2 separate regions of the Homo sapiens genome follow, and region 1 is linked to region 2. Evidence: promoter capture Hi-C in 16 types of primary human blood cells and fetal thymus (Javierre and others, 2016). All regions are on one chromosome and are shown on one strand. The core of a region is centred on a gene start or on the middle of the fragment in contact, and the rest is flanking DNA. Distances in the headings are between cores, read along the strand shown. Region 1 overlaps ZNF529 (zinc finger protein 529). Region 2 holds the start of ZNF222 (zinc finger protein 222).

The links. Contacts are between HindIII fragments. The CHiCAGO score rates a contact against its expected background, and 5 or more counts as called.
Region 1: a contact is called between a fragment that was not itself captured here and the fragment with the promoter of ZNF222 in region 2, in 1 of 17 cell types (total CD4 T cells). The highest score is 5.4, in total CD4 T cells.

Annotation. Positions count from the first base shown.
Region 1 is chr19:36,565,589-36,569,863 of GRCh38, forward strand. The region is part of intron 2 of ZNF529 (zinc finger protein 529); the gene reads right to left. Among named protein-coding and RNA genes, the nearest start is that of ZNF529, 5.6 kb to the right of the region's middle. The HindIII fragment of the contact is 309 bases long and covers 2,243-2,551 here.
Region 2 is chr19:44,023,846-44,027,878 of GRCh38, forward strand. It overlaps ZNF222 (zinc finger protein 222), which reads left to right and starts at 1,534. Exons shown (of 4, transcript NM_001129996.2): 1 at 1,534-1,633; 2 at 3,178-3,304; 3 at 3,553-3,645. The coding sequence starts at 1,592. ZNF222-DT (ZNF222 divergent transcript) reads right to left here and starts at 1,437. Exons shown (of 3, transcript NR_184028.1): 1 at 1,270-1,437; 2 at 1,053-1,174; 3 at 1-54. RefSeq lists enhancers at 1,500-1,549, 1,780-1,829. The HindIII fragment of the contact is 1,542 bases long and covers 1,349-2,890 here.

The sequences.
Region 1 (4,275 bases), core at 1,147-3,646, 7.5 Mb before region 2:
TACTTGGGAGGCTGATGTAGGAGAATTGCTTGACCCCAGAGGCGGAGGTTGCAGTGAGCAGAGATTGTGCCACCGCTCTCATGCCTGGGCGACAGAGTGAGACTCTGTCTCAAAAAAAAGAAAGAAAAGAAAACAACGATAAAGGTACCTAAATAGGCAAATACAAAAGTCTATTGCATCTTGGGCTTGCAGGTCCTCTTTATTTCCCCAATATGATTTAAAAGACTAACGTGTAAAACAGTCATTATAAACCAATGTTAAAGAGCACACAATGTATAAAAATGTAATCTGTGACAAAACAACATGAAGAGGAGCAGAACTGTATAGGAACAGAGTTTTGGATATAGTATTAAAGCTAAGGAGTATGCAGCACAGTTTTGATTCAACAGGTCTGGAATTTTGTTTGTTTGAGACAGGGTCTCACTCTTTTGCCCCGGCTGGAGTGCAGTAGTGTCTGGAATGTTTAAACCCTGCCTATTCCAAAGAAAGTTGTAGCCCTTGACTAACACCTAGAAGATAAATTCTGGCCCCGGAATAGCCAGCTTTCATTAATTTTAATGTGATCCTTTCACTAGTGGGAAAACAACAACAACAACACTTTTCTGAGTTGTGTGAGTCCATCTAGCAGTCAGTGAACCTGAAAGTGGTCTTGGAGTTCCATGACCAAAGTCTATAAATTCAAACCAGTTATTTGTAAATGTAAAATATTCACTGTAATCTTCAGAACACATGCTAAGAAAACAATCAGCTTATATAAAAGAAATGACAAGGGAATTAAAATGGTACAGTACAATAAGTTAATTAAAACCAAAAGAAAGCCAGGTGTAGTGGCTCATACCACTTATCCCAACACTTTTGGGAAGCTGAGGCAGGCAGATCGCTTGAGCCCAGGAGTTCAAGACCAGCTTGGCCAACATGGTGAAACCTTGTCTCTACCAAAAATACAAAAAATTAGCCAGGCATGGTGGTGCTCACCTGTGGTCCTAGCTGTTGGGGAGGTGGGGGGCGGGGGTGTGTGAGGGCTGGGGCTGGGGTAGGAGGATCACTTGAGCCCAGGCAGTTGAGGCTGCAGTGAGTTGCGATTGCACCACTGAACTCCAGCCTGGGTGATGGAATGATACCTTGTCTCAAAAAAATAATAAAAAAAAGGGCCAGGCCTGGTGGCTTATGCCTGTAATCCCAGCACTTTGGGAGGCCAAGACAGGTACATCACCTGAGGTCGGGAGTTTCAGACCAGCCCGGCCAATATGGTAAAATCCCATCTCTACTAAAAATACAAAAATTAGCCTGGTGTGGTGGCAGGCACCTGTAGTCTCAGCTACTTGGGAGGCTAAGGCAGGAGAAGCGCTGGAAGGAGGCAGAGGTTGCAGTGAGCCGAGATCGCGCCACTGCATTCCAGCCTGGGCAACAGAGCGAGACTGTCTCCAAAAAAAAAAAAAAATTCATATGACATTGCAACAGATTCAGCCAAAACAAAGCTGGAAGACTGATATTTCCCAATTCAGAACTGACTATAAAACCACAATAATCAAGACTGTGGGGCACGGAATATGGATAGATATATTCATCAATGGAATAGAACTGAGTGAAAATTTAAACCAGTGTAGCTAGGGTCAAGTGATTTTTGACAAGGGTGCCAATCTAATGAAATAGAGGAAAGAACAGTCTTTTCAACAAATGGTGCCAGAAAAATTGAATATCCACATGCAAAAGAATGAAATTGCATCACTCCTTAATAACACATAAAAAAAGTAACTGAAAACAGATCAATGACCCAAATATAAGAGCTAAAACTATAAAACTCTTAGAAGGAAATGTAGGGGTAAGTCATCATGAACTTATATTTGGCAATGGATTCTTTTTTTTTTGAGATGGAGTCTCACTCTGTCACCCAGAGTGGGGTGCAGTGGCGCCATCTCGGCTCACTGCAACCTCCACCTCCCAGGTTCAAGTGATTCTCCTGCCTCAGCCTCCTCCTGAGTAGCTGGGATTACAGGTGCCTGCCACCATGCCTGGCTAATTTTTGTATTTTTAGTAGGAGACGGGGTTTCACCATGCTGGCCAGGCTGGTTTCAAACTCCTGACCTCAAGTGATCCACCCATATCTGCCTCCCAAAGTGCTGGGATTACAGTCTGAGCCACTGCATCTGGCCTATATTTGGCAATGGATTCTTAAATGATGACACCAAAAGGATAAGCAGCAAAAGAAAATTTTGATGAATTAGGATGTATCAAAACTAAAAGCTTTTGTGCATCAAAAAATCATTATAGAAGAAACTGATAAGACAGCCTGCACGATGTGAAAAAATATCTGCAAATCATATATCTCATGAGCATTTAACATCCAGAATATATAAAAACTCCTACAACTCAGCCCAACAAAAAGACAAACAGCCCAAGTTAAAAGCTGGCAAAAGACTTCAGTAGACATTTCTTCATAAAAGATGAACAAATGGTCAACAAGTACATGGAAAGATGCTGAAAATCATTAGACAATAGGAAAATAATAACAGAACCATGAGAATAACATCAGCAAGATGGCAGCTGAGGAAGCTTCAATTCCCTATTCTCTATTGAAACACTTAAAAAACAACTAGAGACTAGCTAAAATATCTTTGTAAGGGTCTGGAAATCACTCAAAGACTGTAACTATCAAACAAATGCCCAGTCAGGAGAAAGTCACATTCAAAATGGTAGTGAATTTGTTGATTATGTTACTTGTGCTCTTACTCCATCTCTAGTGCAGCATGGAAGAAGCAGCCCAGTTCCCATTTCCCTCCTTCAGGCCAGAAGGAACAAAGCAGAGCTTATTTGGAACATGCTAATCTGTCTGTGGGCTCCTTGAGGTACTGAGGTACTGGTTTCTGTTTTATCTGATTTTCTTTCTTTTTTTTTTTTTTTTACACAGAGTCTCACTTTGTCATCTAGGCTGGAGTGCAGTGGCATGATCTCGGCTCACTGCAACCTCTGCCTCCCAGGTTCAAGCAATTCTCCTGCCTCAGCCTCCTGTGCAGCTGGGATTACAGGTGCACACCACCACGCCTGGCAAATTTTTGTACTTTTAATAGAGACAGGGTTTCACTATGTTGGCCAGGCTGGTCTCGAAGTCCTAACCTCAAGTGATCTGCCTGCCTTGGCCTCCCAAAGTGCTGGGATTACAGGTGTGAGCCACTCTGACTTTTGAGTTTCAACATGTAAAAGGCTGCACAGCTCAGATCTCAGGCAGGTAAAGGCCACAAAGGACAGTGGTGGGCACTGTGGTGCATCAAAGCTAAAACACTATTAAAACTAGAAATAAGTGCAGCAGCACTGCAGGATATAAGATCAGTATGCAAAACTCAATGATATTTTAATTGCCTGGACACCTGTGGATACTTGGAGCAAACGATTACAGGTGGAAAAATATAACATCTAGGGCCTAAGAAGCAAGGGTGAGACCCTATGAAATTAAGGCATTTGAAAGCAGCTATGCATATTAGGGAAACTGGTAAAAGCATATACACAGGTATAGGCACAGGCATGCTACAGACCCAGGAAAAACGTAAGACCTTAGACTTTCACCCTGAGATGATCCCAAGGCCCTAATTAGTGAAGATCTCCAACGGTCTGCAAAAATTAGGAGAAGTAGCTGTTTCTTCAAATGCCCAGTTTTCAACAAAAGACTGCAAGGCATACAAAGACACAGGAAAACAGGGTCCAATCAAAGGAGCAAAATAAATTACACTTGAAGAAACAAAAGCATTGGAGTAACTAGAAAAAGGCTTTGTAAAAACTGTCTTAAATATGCTCATAGAGCTAAAGGAAAACAGAGAAAGAACTAAAAAGGAAATCACGAAAATGACATATAAATAAGTGAGATATCAACAAAGAGAAATAATTACTTTTTAAAAAACTGGCTGGGTGTGGTGGCTCATGCCTGTAATCCCAGCACTTAGAGAGGCTGAGGCGGGCAAACAACACGAGGCCAGGATTTCCAGACTAGTCTAGCCAACATGGTAAAACCCTGTCTCTACTAAAAAAAAAAAAAATTTAGCTGAGTGCAGTGGTGCACACCTGTAGTCCCAGCTACTCAGGAGGCTGAGGCATGAGAATTGCTTGAGCCTGGGAGGCACAGAGGTTGCAGTGAGTCAAGATCACACAACTGCACTCCAGCCTGGGTGACAGGGCAAGACTCTTGTTGCAAAACAAAAAGAAAAAGAAAAAAATGAAGAATTGGCTCAGAGTGCTCAAACCCTGCACATTCCAAAGAAGAAATTGTCCTTGACCAGCTCCTGG
Region 2 (4,033 bases), core at 284-2,783:
CACAATGAGTTTTCTCCACTTTTCCCACATTTAGTCAATGTAGTATTGGAAGTTCTATGCAGAACAATTAGATAGAAAAAGAAAATAAAGCTATTAAAATTGGAAACAGAGGTAAAATTGTCTATATGCTAATGACATGTTCTTATATATAAAAATTCTAAAGAATTCACAAGAAAAAAAAACTCTTAGAGCTAGTAAAGTCAGAAAGTTGCAGGAAAAATATCTACATAGAAGAAGCAGTTGTATTTCTATACAAAAACAATTAATCTGAAAAGGAAAATAGTTCCCTTTGCAATAGCATTAAATAAATAAATTACTTAGGAACTGTCTTAACCAATGACAAGAAACACTTGGACACTGAATTTTGCAACATCTTACTAAAGAAAATTAAAGAAGGCACCCCAGGCATGGTGGCTTATGCCTGTAATCCCAGCACTTTGTGAGGCCCAGGCAGGCGAATAACTTGAGGCCAGGAGTTCGAGATCAGCCTGGCCAACCTGGTGAAACCCCTGTCTTCACTAAAAATACAAAAATTGGCCAGGTATGGTGGTACGTGCCTGTAATCCCAGCTACTTGGGAGGCTGAGGCAGGAGAATCGCTTGAACTCAGGAGGCGGAGGTTGCAGTGAGCCAAGATTGTGCCACTGCACTCCAGCTTGGGCGACAGAGTGAGACTCTGTCTCAAAAAAAAAAAAAAAAAAATTAAAGAAGGCGCAAATAAATGGAGATATATCCATTATTAATGGATTGGGCGACTTGATATTGCAAGGCTGTCAATACCTATATCTATAGATTCAATGCAATCCTTAATCACAGTAACATTTTTCTCAGAAATGAAAAAATCCACCTGAGATTCATGTGAAATATCAAGGGACACTCTCTCCCATGGTCATATTTTAGACCTCGTCATTTTCTAGCAAATATTCCTCCATAATAATTTGCAGCACTACTCTCCAACAACTTTGACTTGTATTTCCACCTTGGTCCCACCAGCATGCTAGCATCAGTAATATTAGAACCTCGCCAATACCTACAGTCCACTGAGACGATCACCTTTTTACTCTTTCAACTCCTCGTGTACTCACAGCCTGCCAAGCACATTTCTTGTCAGGAGAGGACAGCTCACTTCTCCTAATGTCTCACTTCCCAAAATTGTGTCCCATGAAAATTTCTAGCTAGATGAAGGCAGAGAAAGAAAATATTTGATTTCTTAGGCTTTATGGAAGCGATAGGAATGGCAATAGTGGTTTGGAATGGAGACTGCACGCACCAGTCAACAGGGTGTGTCCCGAATAAGCAGTGGGTAAAGGACATTTACTGAAATGCTATCTCCAACTCCACTTCAGGAAAGCTTGCTGCAGAGTTAGAGTGATATAGTCCAAATGCTCTGTTTGAGTCGCGGGCCCTTTGTCTCACACGGGCGAGTCCGGGGAATTCTGGGAAGTGGAGTCCACACGCTCTGTGGAGGCTCGAGCACTTCCGGTCCCCAACTGTGACGTTGCTATTTCATTTACCACAGTAGTTTGAGTCATTTCCACATCTTGCGAGTCCTTCCGAACGAGTCTCCTTTCCTTGGGGCTCGCAACCACCCAATGATCGATTCAGGAGAAAAGAAGCCTGGGCGGAGAGCAGAGGTTTGGAGGGGCGCGGGCGGGGATTGCCGTTCCAGTCAGCTGAGCCTTCTGGCGTCGGGGGGCTCTGCTAGGGTCTCAGGGAGTGGGATTGGCGCGGCCCGGTGTGCCCTACTTTGACCTCGCTTAGTCCGCCTCCCTCCTCCCTACGTGTGCAGCCCCTTTCAGTGTGGTGTGGAGTGTCACTTAATGTCCGTTTATCTTCCATTGCTGGTTCGTTTGTTTGTTTGTTTTGTAACGGGACTTTTCGGACCATCCTAATGGATTCATTTTGGGACCTGAAAGAGGTAACACAAATGAGAGCCTTAAAAGCAGTCCCTGTCACTCGGTGTCTGGTGGTCTCTTGTTAATTTCCCACGAAGCCTGTCAGGTCCTCTGGTGGGGTCAGAGCTCCAGCTGCAGGGGCGCCGGCCCTTCTGCCTGATCCCTGCAGGACGCTGGATGATCCCTGACGCCTTCTGACCTCTTTTTAGGAAAGTGAGGGGAGCATTTAACTTTTATGGGGGACGGCAAAACGGTCAGGGTGTTTCACAGCTTTCTTTTTCCCCAGCCCGACCTTTCTAAAAGAGCTGCAGGAAGGGACTTCTTGGCTACTGATGGCAAAGCTCTACGTGAGTGATCCTTGGCTTTTTTTCTTTGACAGAGATGCTTACCTCAACCGAGAGTGTGTAGGATTTGTCCCTCGGGCATGGGTGTCGATAATGATTAAGCCTTAATTGGTAACTTTATTCCAAGTACTTTATACCCCAAAATACATGATCTTCACAGTGGCACTGTGGAGAGGTGCTGCTTTTTTCATTTTAAAGATGGGCGTGAGACACAGGTGGAGCAGGAGTTGAAACCTAGGCAGTCCAGGTTAGAGCCTGAGTTGATCATCTCTTGAATGCAATTCTCATTGAGGCAGAGGTACTAGCTGGGAACAGGTGGAGAACGTAAGTTAGGACTTGATTGAAGGCACCTTGAGGCAAGGCTCAGGGGCTTGGACTTCTATAGGAGTTTTTGTTTGTTTGCTTTTTGCTTTTTAATTTTTTTAACCTTATCTACTATTTTCTTTCTCTCTCTCTCTCTATATATATATATATTTTTTTTTTTACAGAGTTTCGCTCTTGTTGCTTAGGCTGGAGTGCAGTGGTGCAATCTTGGCTCACTGTAACCTCCGCCTCTCGGGTTCAAGTGATTCTCCTGCCTCAGTCTCATTTTCGTCAAAGGGCCCGCGACTCAAACAGAGCATTTGGACTATATCACTCTAACTCTGCAGCAAGCTTTCCTGAAGTGGAGTTAGAGATAGCATCTCAGTAAATGTCCTTTACCCACTATTTATTCAGGACACACCCTGTTGACTGGTGTGTGCAGTCTCCATTCCAAACCCCTATTGCCTAATCAGTCATTGTCAGGACACAAACAGAATAAGTAGGAAATCTATAAGCTGACCTATGTCTCTCAAGATCCAAAACAACTTTACACTTGTCCCTTGTGCCAGTGCAATGCTGCTGTCTCCCAATAGTCTTTGGCCGTAAGATTGAGGTGACATCTGCTTGATGTTGTAGGAGGCAGTGACCTTCAAGGATGTGGCTGTGATCTTCACTGAGGAGGAGCTGGGGCTGCTGGACCCTGCCCAGAGGAAGCTGTACCGAGATGTGATGCTTGAGAACTTCAGGAACCTGCTCTCAGTGGGTGAGGACGGGCACCCCCTGTAATGGAATGTCAGGCCCCAGGAGTGGTTTTTTAATCCTAGGGTTTTCAAGTTTGAGTGTGCAGTGAGAACCTACATTTCCAGTAAATTTTGCCTGGCTATTAGGTTGGTGCAAAAGTAATTGTGGTTTTTGTCATTGGAAGTAATGGTACACTGCAATTACGTTTGCACCAACATGATATTACCTTGAACATGTTGGGATTAAGCATGTGACTTTGCCTGTTCACAGGGCATCAACCATTCCATGGAGATACTTTCCACTTCCTAAGGGAAGAAAAGTTTTGGGTGATGGGGACAACAAGCCAAAGAGAAGGGAATTTGGGTAAGAACCAAGCAATTGTGTGTCCCTGCATGTGATTCCTGTTACTTCTGTCCATGCCCATTTCCAGCATTTTGGGGTAAATGGCCAAACCTGTTTCCTGGATTATTACAGCCTTCTCCCTGCTGATGCCCCTGCTCCCACCCTTCCCACCCTGCCATCTGTTCTTACGGTAGCCAAAGTGATCCGTAGGAAACGGAAGTCACATTGCCATTCCTCAGCTCAAAGCCTTTCTGGCTTCTTGTTTTTATTAGTGTTACAACCTCTTTAAGTGGCTTTTGTAGACCCTGTGATCTGCCCTTCATCCCACACTGTCTGACTGCATCTCCTGTCCTCTCCCCCTTGCTCCATCTTTTCCAGGCACCTTGTCCTCCCTGCTGTTTCTCTATCC